Linked DNA regions of Homo sapiens: region 1 is linked to region 2. The links are contacts of gene promoters, found by promoter capture Hi-C in blood cells and fetal thymus (Javierre and others, 2016). All regions are on one chromosome and are shown on one strand. The core of a region is centred on a gene start or on the middle of the fragment in contact, and the rest is flanking DNA. Distances in the headings are between cores, read along the strand shown. Region 1 holds the start of EXOSC5 (exosome component 5). Region 2 has its middle 33 kb from the start of NUMBL.

Region 1 (6,252 bases), core at 691-3,190, 740 kb after region 2:
GTTGACCCCACAACAATCTACAACTCCTGCCCCACTTATCTGATCCTCTTACAGCAGAACTCCTGAACAGCTGCCTCTTCTTCCTTTTCTGTGACCCCACCACTCCATTGCGGCAGCTCAACATCGTCACCACTGACCTCCAAATGATCAACCCTCCCATGACCCGGCTGTCAGTAAGGCTGAAACAGCTGGTCAGCCCTCACATCTCAGACATGCTCTTTTCTTGGCCCCAGGTCACCACCATCTCCTGGTTTCCCCCTAACTCTCTGGGCGTTCCTTCTGAGTCTCCTTTGCTAGCTTGTCACATGTCTCTGACTGCTCAAGTTGGAAGGCCTAGGGCTTGGTCCTGGGACCTCTTCTCTTTTCCATCTACACTCACTTCGTTCAGGCAATAGCCTGAAATACCATCTATATAGCCAGAGAGTTCCAAATTGCCTATGTCCAGCTTGGGTCTCTCTTCTGATTTCCAGACTTGTACAGATCTGGGCAGAAACCTTAGTTATGCCTGAATCTTTTTCCTCGCACTCAAACCAAACTATACGTAAGTTTTGTCCGTATTACTTTCAAACTACATCCAGAATCTCATCACCTCCACTACTCCTGCTCTGGCTGGAGCCACCATCACCTCCCTGTTTTCCCCCATACTCCCCACAATCAACACAGCAGCCAAATTTTGTTAAAATGTATTGGGGCTGGGCGTGGTGGCTCATACCTGTATGAGCACTTTGGGAGGAGGATTGCTTGAGCCCAGGAGTTCAAGACCAACCTGGGTGACATCGTGAGACGCTGTCTCAATTTTTTTTTTTTTTGAGACAGAGTCTTGCTTTGTCGCTCACGCTGGAGTACAATGGCACGATCTCGGCCCACTGCAACTTCTGCCTCCCAGGTTCAAGTGATTGTCCTGCCTCAGCCTCCCGAGTAGCTGGGATTACAGGCGCCCGCCACCATGCCTGGCTAGTTTTTGTATTTTTAGTAGAGACAGGGTTTCGCCATGTTGGCCAGGCTGGTCTCGAACTCCTGACCTCAGGTGAGCCACAGGTCTTGGCCTCCCAAAGTGTGGGGATTACAGGCGTGAGCCACCGCCCCCGGCCTCCCGTCTCAAACGTTAAAGAGAAATATTCTTGGAGTTAATCTACTTCTGAGAGTTATTTAGCTAGGAAAAGGGGATATTTGCTCTATAGGTAAGACTTGCCCTAATCTTTTTTTTTTTTTTTTTTTTGACTTGCCCTAATCTTAGGGATATTTACTTGTGTGGAGAGATGCAGTGAGGTAGCGGTGGGGATGTATTTCTCAACCCAGCGCAATGACATTATCTTCAATTTGAGGAGTATTTACGTGGGTGAAAGATCCGCCACAGTCCACAGTATGCAAATAGACAGGTTTGCTTCAGTCCGGGATGCAAGGACCTAGAGGGTGTGTGTGTGGGGGGTGGGGGTGGGAGGGTGGAGGAGGAATCGAGTTAAGGGGGATATTTACCCTGGCGAGGTGATTTTCCCTATTCTGAAATATCAATTCTTGGGCGGACAGTCTGCCCCTCCTCTCATTCTCAGAGATAGTTACAAAGATGGAACTATCTTCTCCTTTCTAGTCGTGAGGGAGAGATGTGTGTATCCCTGCGTATTTAGTAGTATTCAATCGGACAAGAAATCATGCATCAACGCAGGAGTGACATTTACCAGCTGGTATCGTGAGGAGGTGGGCACTCGGTTGCACAGTACACGGTAGTCCCTCTCCAAAAGAAAGACCTGGGTGAAGTTCTTACCTTGCAGGAAGGAAGCAGAGCCATCTGGCCGCGACAGCAGGTTCTGTTCGCAGGCAAAGTGCCGGAGGCTGCAGCCAGGACCCCGAGGGCTGGACCCTGTTCCATTTTCAGCACGGATTTTGGCGTCAGTATGCGTCTCCTCCTCCATCGCGCCGAGCCCACGTGCGGCTGCAGTTGTCACTTCCGCCTGGCAGCGCGCGCCGCAAACAGGCTGCGTAACCAGTGCGCACGCGCCGGGCTGGGCCATCCTCCTGGGCGTCCGCACGTGGCTTAGCGTTTACCAACAATCTGGCTCCGCCCAGTCCCACCTCCTAACTCTGGCAACGCCATTGGACATTTGGGAACAGAAGGCAGGCCTTGGCATTGATCCGCTTTACTCTGGGCCCCCGGGCCCTAAATCCCTGAGGCCCTGGTCAGGTTGCCCTCTTCTTTGCCTGTTACAGGAGTAACTACAATGAGGCGATTGGAGAAAATTTTGGGTAGATAGATTTTTTTTTCTCCAAATCTCTGTGCATTCTATCTACCACAGAACGGGAAGAAGATGGTTTTCTTGTCAGATGGTGCTGGAGTTTGCGTCAGGCACATAAAGAGGCAGCCCCGAATCTAGCCTACGTGAGTGCCGGACCGCTGAGTGGTTGTTAGCCAAGATGGCGGTAGCGATCGCTGCAGCGAGGGTCTGGCGGCTAAACCGTGGTTTGAGCCAGGCTGCCCTCCTGCTGCTGCGGCAGCCTGGGGCTCGGGGACTGGCTAGATCTGTGAGTACCTGGGCCCCAGGCGGTTTTCCCAAAGGGGATTAGGGATGTAAAGGCTATCTTCAGAGTGTGGGGTCCCTGAAGGATATGAAGGAAGGGCTGTCACAAAAGGGAAAAAGAGTGGGAGACTCCTTGGAGAAGACACCGAAGGGAAGATCTGCCACTTCCTTAGGAGACGAAAAGAACTTCCACTTCTTTAGGAGAGGAAAAAACCCGTTTGCAACTTCTTTGTGGGCCCTGAGGGAGACGACTTGAAGAGAGAGATGGGGGTTCCTTATTAGCTGCCACTGGTATTCAGGGGAGGCTCCTTGGAGGAACAGGGGAAGACCGCAAGACCTTCTCCCTCAGGGTTTGGAGAATGAAACTGACTTTGTAAGGGAGGGACTTTCTTCTGGGCAAAGATCCCTCTTCAAGAAGAAGAAAGAAGAGAACAGGTCCCTGTCACAGGCTGCATAGGGCCTTGTATTTCTTTGCTCCTTTGCCACAATTCTGATTTTAAAATGAATTGTGTAAAAAATTTGTTTGATTCCTGTGTCTCTTGATCGAATATCAAGACAGAGAATTCGTGTGTTCTGGACACTGTACAGAGGAGACGATTAATATTTGTTGAATTAATGAGGGGAAAAAAGGAGGGAGAGAGGTACAGACAGGGCACTTTGCCCACATTTCTTAGAAACACTTGAGAAGGCTTTGTTTCTTGTCAAAAGGGTCACAATCCCTTCAGGTGGATGCTGCTAAGGGCAAGATTACACTGCAAAAAACCTAGGTGGAAGCCTATCTTTAGACGGGGAGAGGCAATGGGTTGCAGAAGAGCTTTGAACTACAGTTGACAGATAGGAGAGTAGTGGTTACATGGGTGGATGCATGTCCTTGCTCTGCCGCTTTCCACTTGTGTAGCCTTGGCCAACGGACTGCACTTCTCTGGATCTATGGAGCTAATTTTCCTCTCTAAAATATTAACAGTGGCCACCTCATAGGGCTGTGAAAAATCAATATGTAAAATGCTAAGGACTGGACCTGGCACATCCTAAGGGCAATAGGAATGTTGATAGTGAGGGTGGAGGGAAGGGACAGAAACTAACCTTGGAGATGGGGAGAAGAAAGGGGTGACCTTGGGAAGGCCTGGATTGGTGAGGCCCTGGGGAAAAAAATCTGAAAAGATATTGTGAGGTTGAGTCTGATCCTCTGATCCCCAATCCATAAGGAGGGGAAGATGGAATCTGTAGAAAGAAGCTCTGGGTAGGGGAACAAACGGGAGGAGGGTGAAGAAGATGGGCCAGGAGTAGGACGTAGTAGGTATCTAGGAACGGAGTCACTTGAAACAGGTAAATACAGAAGGGCTGCAGGAGCAAGGTGTGGGTAGGGCAGTCTCTTGCCTTTGGGCTGGAGACCTTTTCACTTTTTTTTTTTTTTTTTTTTTTGAGCAGTTCATATCCTCCACAGCTGATCTCAGTCCCAGGGGCCCATTGGCTGGGCAAGTGGGGCAGGAGGTGGGCAGGACTGGGGCAGGCTAGGGAAAGGTCATTTATGGCTGATTAAATCTTTCTCTCCTGTCTCAATCTCTTGATTACCTTTCCTCTTGCTTCCCCTACTTCATTTTTGGTGGGGAGTGGGGAGGGAAGAAGTCCCTACTTTTTATTTATATATATTTAAATTTGTATTATCTTAAGAGTTATTGTTTTTTCCCCTTTATTTCTCCCACCTGTTCTTTCTCTCTTCTTCTTTCTTTCCTCTCCTTCTCCTCTCCTCTCCTCCCCTCTCCTTTTTCTTTTCTTTTCTTTTTCCCTTTCCTTTCCTTTCCTTTTCTCTTCTCTTTTCTCTCTCTCTTTCTTTCTGTACCTCTCTTTCCTTTTTCTTTTTTTTTCTTTTTTGAGACAGAGTTTCACTCTCTCGCCTAGGCTGGAGTGCAGCAGCATGATCTTGACTTACTGCAATCTCTGCCTGCCGAGTTCAAGCAATTCTCCTGCCTCAGCCTCCCTAGTAGCTGGGATTACAGGCATGCACTATCACGCCTGGCTAATTTTTGTATTTTTGGTAGGGACGAGGTTTCACCATGTTGTCCAGGCTGGTCTCGAACTTCTGGCCTCAAGTTCCGCCTGTCTTGGCCTCCAAAAGCATGAGCCACTGCGCCTAGCCTTTTCTTTTTTTGAGACAAGGTCTCACTCTGTCACCCAGGCTGGAGTGAGTGCAGTGGTGTGATCATGGCTCACTGCAGCCTCAACCTCCTGGGCTCAAGCAATCCCCCCACCTCCACCTCCTAAGTAGCTGGGACCACAGGCACGTGCTACTACGCCTGGCTAATTTTTAATTTTTTTTTTTTTTTTTGAGACGGAGTCTTGCTCTGTCACCCAAGCTGGAGTGCAGTGGCACGATCTCGGCTCACTGCAACCTCCACTTCCCAGGTTCAAGTGATTCTCCTGCCTCAGCCTCCCAAATAGCTGGGACTACTGGCGTGCGCCACCATACCCAGTTAATTTTTGTATTTTTAGTAGAGATGGGGTTTCACCATGTTGACCAGGCTGGTCTTGAACTCCTGATCTAAGGTGATCTGCCCGCCTCGGCCTCCCAAAGTGCTGGGATTACAGGCATAAGCCACTGTGCCTGGCTGCGCCTGGCTAATTTTTAAATCTTTGTAGAGATGGGGTTTTGCCATGTTTTCCAGGCTGGTCTTGAACTCCTGGACTCAAGCGATCTTCCTGCCTCAGCCTCCCAAAGTGCAGGATGACAAGCGTGAGCCACCTTGCCTGGCCATATTATTAAATTATCATGAGTTTAAGTTTAAGTAGCCACAAGTGGGCTGGGTGCGGTGGCTCATGCCTGTAATCCCAGCATTTTGAGAGGCCAAGGTGGGCGGGTTGCCTGAGGCCAGGAGTTCAAGACCAGCCTGGCCAACATGGTGAAACCCCATCTCTACTAAAAATACAAAAAAATTAGCTGGGCGTAATGGCGTGTGCCTGTAGTCCCAGCTACTTGGGAGGCTGAGGCAGAAGAATCGCTTGAACCTGGGAGGCGGAGATTGCAGTGAGCCGAGATCGCACCACTATACCCCAGCCTAGGTGACAGAGCAGCCCTCTGTCTCAAAATAAGATAGCCACAAGTGGTTGGTGGCTGCCACATTAGATGGTGCAGGGTTTTTGTTTTGTTTTGTTTTTTGTTTTTTCGAGGTGGAGTTTTGCTCTCATTGCCTAGGCTGGAGTGCAATGGCATGATCTTGGCTCACCACAACCTCCTCTTCCTGGGTTCAAGCGATTCTCCTGCCTCAGCCTCCCGAGTAGCTGGGATTACAGGCATGCACCACCATGCCTGGCTAATTTTGTATTTTTAGTAGAGACAGGGTTTCTCCATGTTGATCAGGCTGGTCTTGAACTCCCGACCTCAGGCGACCCACCCACCTCGGCCTCCCAGAGTGCTGGGATTACAGGTGTGAGCCACCATGCCTGGCTAAGATGATGCAGTTTTATCCAGGTGGAGATGAAGAAATAGTCAGGGAAAGGTTGAGAGGCTGCATATTGTAGACAGATTGGATTACTGGGTTCACTGGGGAAGATTGGATTAGAAGGAGGAGTGGGGCTGCTTTACTTGTCCCCGACTTCTTGCCCCTGCTCTGCCCACTCCTTCATTGAATACCCTGCTGCCCTGCAGATGTGTTTGCCTGATTTTCACCTCCCTTCCTGTCTCTGTTATCATAGCAGACGTTTTAGTGCTCAGGGAAAGGAGGAGGAAGGAAACTCAGATTGT
Region 2 (5,547 bases), core at 2,426-4,925:
AATGCTCATCTTGTACTATCTACTGGAAACCCTAAAAATACAGAGACCCTGGAGCCACTTTCTGGGTTCTGCTCCCCTTCATTGCTTTCTAGCTGTGTGACTTTGGGCCAAGTTCCTTAACCACTCTGTGGCTCAGTTTCTCTTCTGGAAAATGGAGACAATAATAGTATCTGCCTCTCAGCGTTGTTATAAGAGTTACCTTGGCACACAGTGTTATGTGGGTGTTTACGCTGAGTATTACTGTTATTACAGTAATCATTCAAATCCAAGAAGCCATCAAAGGTAAGATGCATTGTTTTTTATTTTATTTTATTTTATTTTTTATTTTTATTTTGAGACAGAGTCCTGCTCTGTTGCCCAGGTGGGAGTGCAGTGGTGCGATCTCAGCTCACTACGACCTCCACCTCCCAGGTTCAAACAATTCTCCTGCTTCAGCCTCCTGAGTAGCTGGGATTACAGGTGTGCCCTACCACGCCTAAGTTTTGTATTTTTAGTAGAGATGGGGTTTCACCATGTTGGCCAGGCTGGTCTCAAACTCCTGACCTCAAGTGATTCACCCGCCTCAGCCTCCCAAAATGCTGGGATTACAAGGGTGAGCCACCACACCCAGCCAAGATGCATTGTCACTTCAAATCCCCAGGGGAGAAAAAACAGCTGCCAGTTAAACTATGACACATAATCATTTATAAGACACATCCTGATTTCCAAGTCATTGAAAAGGGGTGGGGAGGATAAATAAGTCAATTAAAAATGGTTTTATTCGGCCTGGCGTGGTGGCTTACGTCTGTAATGCCAGCACTTTGGGAGGCTGAGGTGGGTGGATCACGAGGTCAGGAAGTTCGAGACCAGCCTGGCCAACGTGGTGAAACCCCGCCTCTACTAAAAATACAAAAAATTAGCCATGCCTAGTGGCACAGGCCTGTAATCCCAGCTACTCGGGAGGCTGAGGCAAGAGAATCTCTTGAACCCAGAAGGCAGAGATTGCAGTGAGCCAAGATCGTGCCATTGCACTCCAGCCTGGGTGACAGAGCAAGACTCCATCTCGAGAAAAAAAAAAAAAAAGATGGTTTTATTCTGGAATAGGAGAGTATTTAAGGAAAGAAAATAAAAAATAAAGGAAAAAAAGAAATTTTAAAATTAAAAAAAATGATTTCATGTGTACAGAAGAATTTAGCAACAAGGATGTCCACCACAGCACTTGTCATAATGGCAAACCTGCTGAAACCCCAACCATTATGGATTAACTGCACAAGTTAAGAGAGAGCCACAAAATATTGTGACTGAAGGGGTTTTCAAAGATTGTTCCAAAACCCTGGGGATCCTCAAAAGTGAATCAATTTCTCTCTTTCATAATCTTTTTCATCTTCACTCTCCTATGAGTGCATAAAGCAAAAAATAATAAGCAGGTGACTTCTAAAAAGAAAAAACCTCTGGAAACTATGCCTCAACCCCATTCTAGAGCCTGCTGGGCCACTGCTCAGAAAAGGAAATGTGTGCCCCAGGCTGACCCACTCTTAAGACAACCCATTCTCCACATGCCTCTGCCTTCAGTTACACAGCTGTACCCAGAGAGGGGTCTTGTCTTTACTCAGCTGTCCATCCACCCTCCCTGTGTTGCAATGAATACATCCCTGGTATCTTCTGTGCCTGGCCCCAGCCCACCCCCTCCTCAGAGCTCCAGCCACACATTCCAGTGCCTTCGAGACTCACCTGCTTTGAAAGGTAGATCCTTACATTCAATTTTCTTGTTGAAATACTTCATGTGGTTTCTTTTTTCTTGACAAGCCTCTGACCAACACTTGGTGGTCATTCTTAAACCGTTGATTTTTCCCCTTCACACCTATTCCCCTCCACGATCACAATCTTCCCAGTCTCAAAAATGTCTCTACCTGGGACCTCAAGCCAGAAACCCAGGCAATATGGAGGCACTTCCTCTCCTCATTCCACATATGCCACTCATGGACAATTCCTGCTTTCCTCTAAGGCAGATGCTTACCACACCCCTACCCCCACCCTTCTATTTAGAAAATTTCTAAACATGCAAAAGAATTGCAAGAAAAGTAGAAGATATAATAATATACTGTGGATATGGATTCACTAGGTTTTTGCAGTTTTTTGTTTGTTTTTGTTTTGAGACGGAGTCTTGCTCTGTCACCCAGGCTGGAGTGCAATGGTGCGATCTCAGTGCAAGCTCTGCCTCCCAGGTTCAAGCAATTCTCCCTGCTTCAACCTTCCAAGTAGCTGGGATTACAGGCACCCACCACCATGCCCAGCTAATTTTTGTATTTTTCAGTGGAGATAGGGTTTTGTTACGTTGGCCAGCTGGTCTTGACCTCCTGACCTCAGGTGATCCGCCTGCCTTGGCCTCCCAAAGTGCTGGATTACAGGCGTGAACCGTCACACCTGGCCTTTTGTGTTTTTGTTTTTGTTTTGGTTTGTGTGTGTGTGTTTGTTTGTTTGTTTTTGAGATGGGGTTTCACTCTGTTGCCCAGGCTGGAGTGCAGTGGTGTGATCACAGCTCACTACAGCCTCAACCTGCTAGGCTCAAGCGATCCTCCCTTCTAAGCCTCTTGAGTAGCTGAGACTGCAGGTGCCCACCACCACACCCAGCTAATTTTTGTATTTTTTGTAGAGACGGGTTTTCACCATGTTGCCCAGGCTGTTCTCAAACTCCTGGGCTCAAGTGATTCCCCCCACCTTGGCCTCCCAAAGTGCTTGGATTACAAACGTGAGCCACTGTGCTGGGCCTATTTCTTTGTGTTTTAAGAGGCAGGGTCTTTCTCTGTTGCCCAGGTGGAGTACGATGATTCGATCATAGCTCACTGCAGCCTCAAACTCCTAGGCACGGGAGACCCTCCTGCATCAGCCTCCCGAGTAGCCCAGACTACAGGTGTGTGCCACTATACCTAGCTAATGAAAAGAATTTTTTTGTAGACATGAGTTCTTGCTATGTTGTCTAGGCTGGTCTGGAACCTCCAGCCTCAGGCGATCCCCTTGCTTCAGTCTTCCAAAGCAGTGGGGTTACAGGCGTGAACCACCTGGCCTGGTCTCGCTCTTTCTCTTTCGACATCTACATTGATCTGTAGCTATCTACGTACTATAGATATCTAAAAGTTATGTAAATGTCTACTTAAGCTTATAGGTATGAGCTACTGTATGCTATCTAAGCTTATAGGTATGAGCTACAAATTGCTATTGTGTTATGAGGGGAATTCAAAAAGTTGATGGAGAATGGAATTAAGAGATAAAAATTTTAAAAAAATCTTTATTTCTCACCATAAACTCCATCAAGGTCAAAGTCAAGACACTTTTGTAAACCATTATACCAGCCATTTAGTCTATCCCTAAATAACTGAGGGTCCCAGGAATTTAATCATGTCAGTGCAGCCTTTTTACATTTTCTCTTTCTTTTTTTTTTTGATGGAATCTCACTCTGTTGCTCAGGCTGGAGTGCAGTGGTATGATCTCGGCTCACTGCAACCTCTGCCTCCCGGGTTCAAGCCATTCTCCTGCCTCAGCCTCCTGAGTAGCTGGGACTACAGGCATGTACCACCACATCTGGCTAATTTTTTTTTTTTTAGTAGAGACGAGGTTTTGCCAAGTTGGCCGGGCTGGTCTCAAACTCCTAACTTCAGGTGATCTGCCCGCCTCGGCCTCCCAAAGTGCTAGCATTACAGTTGTGAGCCACTGTGCCAGGCCTTTTTTTTTTGTTCTTGTTGCCCAGGCTGGAGTGCAGTGGCATGATCTCGGCTCACTGCAACCTCCACCTCCTGGGTTCAAGTGATTCTCCTGCCTCAGCCTCCCGACTAGCTGGGATTACAGTCATGAGCCACCACACCTGGCTAATTTTTGTATTTTTTTTTTTAGTAGAGACAGGGTTTTGCCATGTTGGTCAGGCTGGTCTTGAACTCCCAACCTCAGGTGATCCACCCTCCTTGGCCTCCCAAAATGCTAAGATTACAGGCGTGAGCCACTCCGCCCAGCCCAGTCTTTTTACATTCTTAACTGAAGAAAAATGGGTGCCCTTCAAAGATTTTAAGATTAGGAAACAAAAAGTCAGAAGGAGCCAAATTGGGACTGCCAAGTGGATGCCTAATAATTTCCCATCAAAACTTGTAAAATTGCTCGTTTGATGAGGAGAATGAGCAGAAGCGTAGACATGCTGGAGAAGAACTCTCTGGTGAAGCTTCCCAGGCTTATTTCTACTAAAGCTTCGGCTAACTTTCTCAAAACACTCTCATAATAAGCAGATCTTATTATTCTTTGACCCTACAGAAAGTCAACCAGCAAAATGCCTTGAGCATCCCCAAAAACTGTTGCTATGACCTTTGCTCTTGACCAGTGTGCTTCTGCCTTGACTGGATCACTTCCCCGCTCTTGGCAATCATTCTCTGATTACGATTTGTCTTTAGGATTGCACCCGTGAAACCATGTATCATTTCCCGTTACAATCCTTCAAGGAAATGCATTAGGATCTCGATCTCACTTGTTTAGCATGTCCATGGAAAGCTCTGCTCTTCTCTGCAGCTGATCTGGGTGCGACCGTTCTGGCACCCATCGAGTGGAAAGTTTGTTTAGCTTTAATTTCAGTCAGAATTGTGTAAGCTGAGGCCGGGTGAGGTGGCTCAAGCCTGTAATCCCAGCAGTTCGGGAGAATGAGGCAGGAGGATCACTTGTGTCCAGGAGTTCAAGACCAGCCTGGGAAACCTAATGAGACCCCCATCTCTACAAAAAATACGAAAATTTAGTGTCAGGCCTCTGAGCCCAAGCTAAGCCATCATATCGCCTGTGACCTGCACGTATACATCCAGGTGGCCTGAAGCAACTGAAGAGCCACAAAAGAAGTGAAAATAGCCTTAACTGATGACATTCCACCATTGTGATTTGTTTCTGCCCCACCCTAATGATCAATGTACTTTGTAATCTCCCCCACCCTTAAGAAGTTTCTTTGTAATTCTTCCCATCCTTGAGAATGAACTTTGTGAGATCCGCCCCCTGCCCGCAAAACATTGCTCCAAACTCCACCGCCTATCCCAAAACCTATAAGAATTAATCATAATCCCACCACCCTTTGCTGACTCTCTTTTTGGACTCAGCCTGCCTGCACCCAGGTGAAATAAACAGCCTTGTTGCTCACACAAAGCCTGTTTGGTGGTCTCTTCACAGGGACGCGTGTGACACTTAGCTGAACGTGCTGGCACGCACCTGTAGTTCCAACTACTTCGGAGGCTGAGGTGGAAGGATCGCTTGAGCCCAGGAGGTTGAGGCTGCAGTGAGCCACAATCTCACCACTGTACTCAGCCTGGGCGACAGTATGAGAACCCTGTCTCAAAAAAAAAAAAAAAAAAAAAGAAAAAAGAATTGTGTAAGCTGTACCAATTGAGATGTCTATGGTGTTGGCTATTGTTTCTGCTGTTAACTGTAAGTCCTCTTTAATTAAGGCATAAACAAATTTAATTTTTTTCTGCAAAAATTGATGTGGATGGTATGCCACGGTGGGCTTCATCTTCAGCATGACCCAGGCTGGAGTGCAGTGGCGCAATCACG

What was found. The method cuts DNA at HindIII sites, captures the fragments that hold promoters and counts their contacts. A CHiCAGO score of 5 or more calls a contact.
Region 1: a contact is called between the fragment with the promoter of EXOSC5 here and a fragment that was not itself captured in region 2, in 1 of 17 cell types (naive CD8 T cells). The highest score is 5.4, in naive CD8 T cells.

The regions. Positions count from the first base shown.
Region 1 is chr19:41,395,419-41,401,670 of GRCh38, forward strand. It overlaps EXOSC5 (exosome component 5), which reads right to left and starts at 1,941. Exons shown (of 6, transcript NM_020158.4): 1 at 1,763-1,941. The coding sequence starts at 1,910. It overlaps BCKDHA (branched chain keto acid dehydrogenase E1 subunit alpha), which reads left to right and starts at 2,400. Exons shown (of 9, transcript NM_000709.4): 1 at 2,400-2,517. The coding sequence starts at 2,410. RefSeq lists a silencer at 1,864-2,152 and enhancers at 1,911-2,583, 2,149-2,428, 2,584-3,255. The HindIII fragment of the contact is 9,689 bases long and covers 1-6,252 here.
Region 2 is chr19:40,655,225-40,660,771 of GRCh38, forward strand. No RefSeq gene overlaps it. Among named protein-coding and RNA genes, the nearest start is that of NUMBL, 33 kb to the right of the region's middle. The HindIII fragment of the contact is 1,018 bases long and covers 3,167-4,184 here.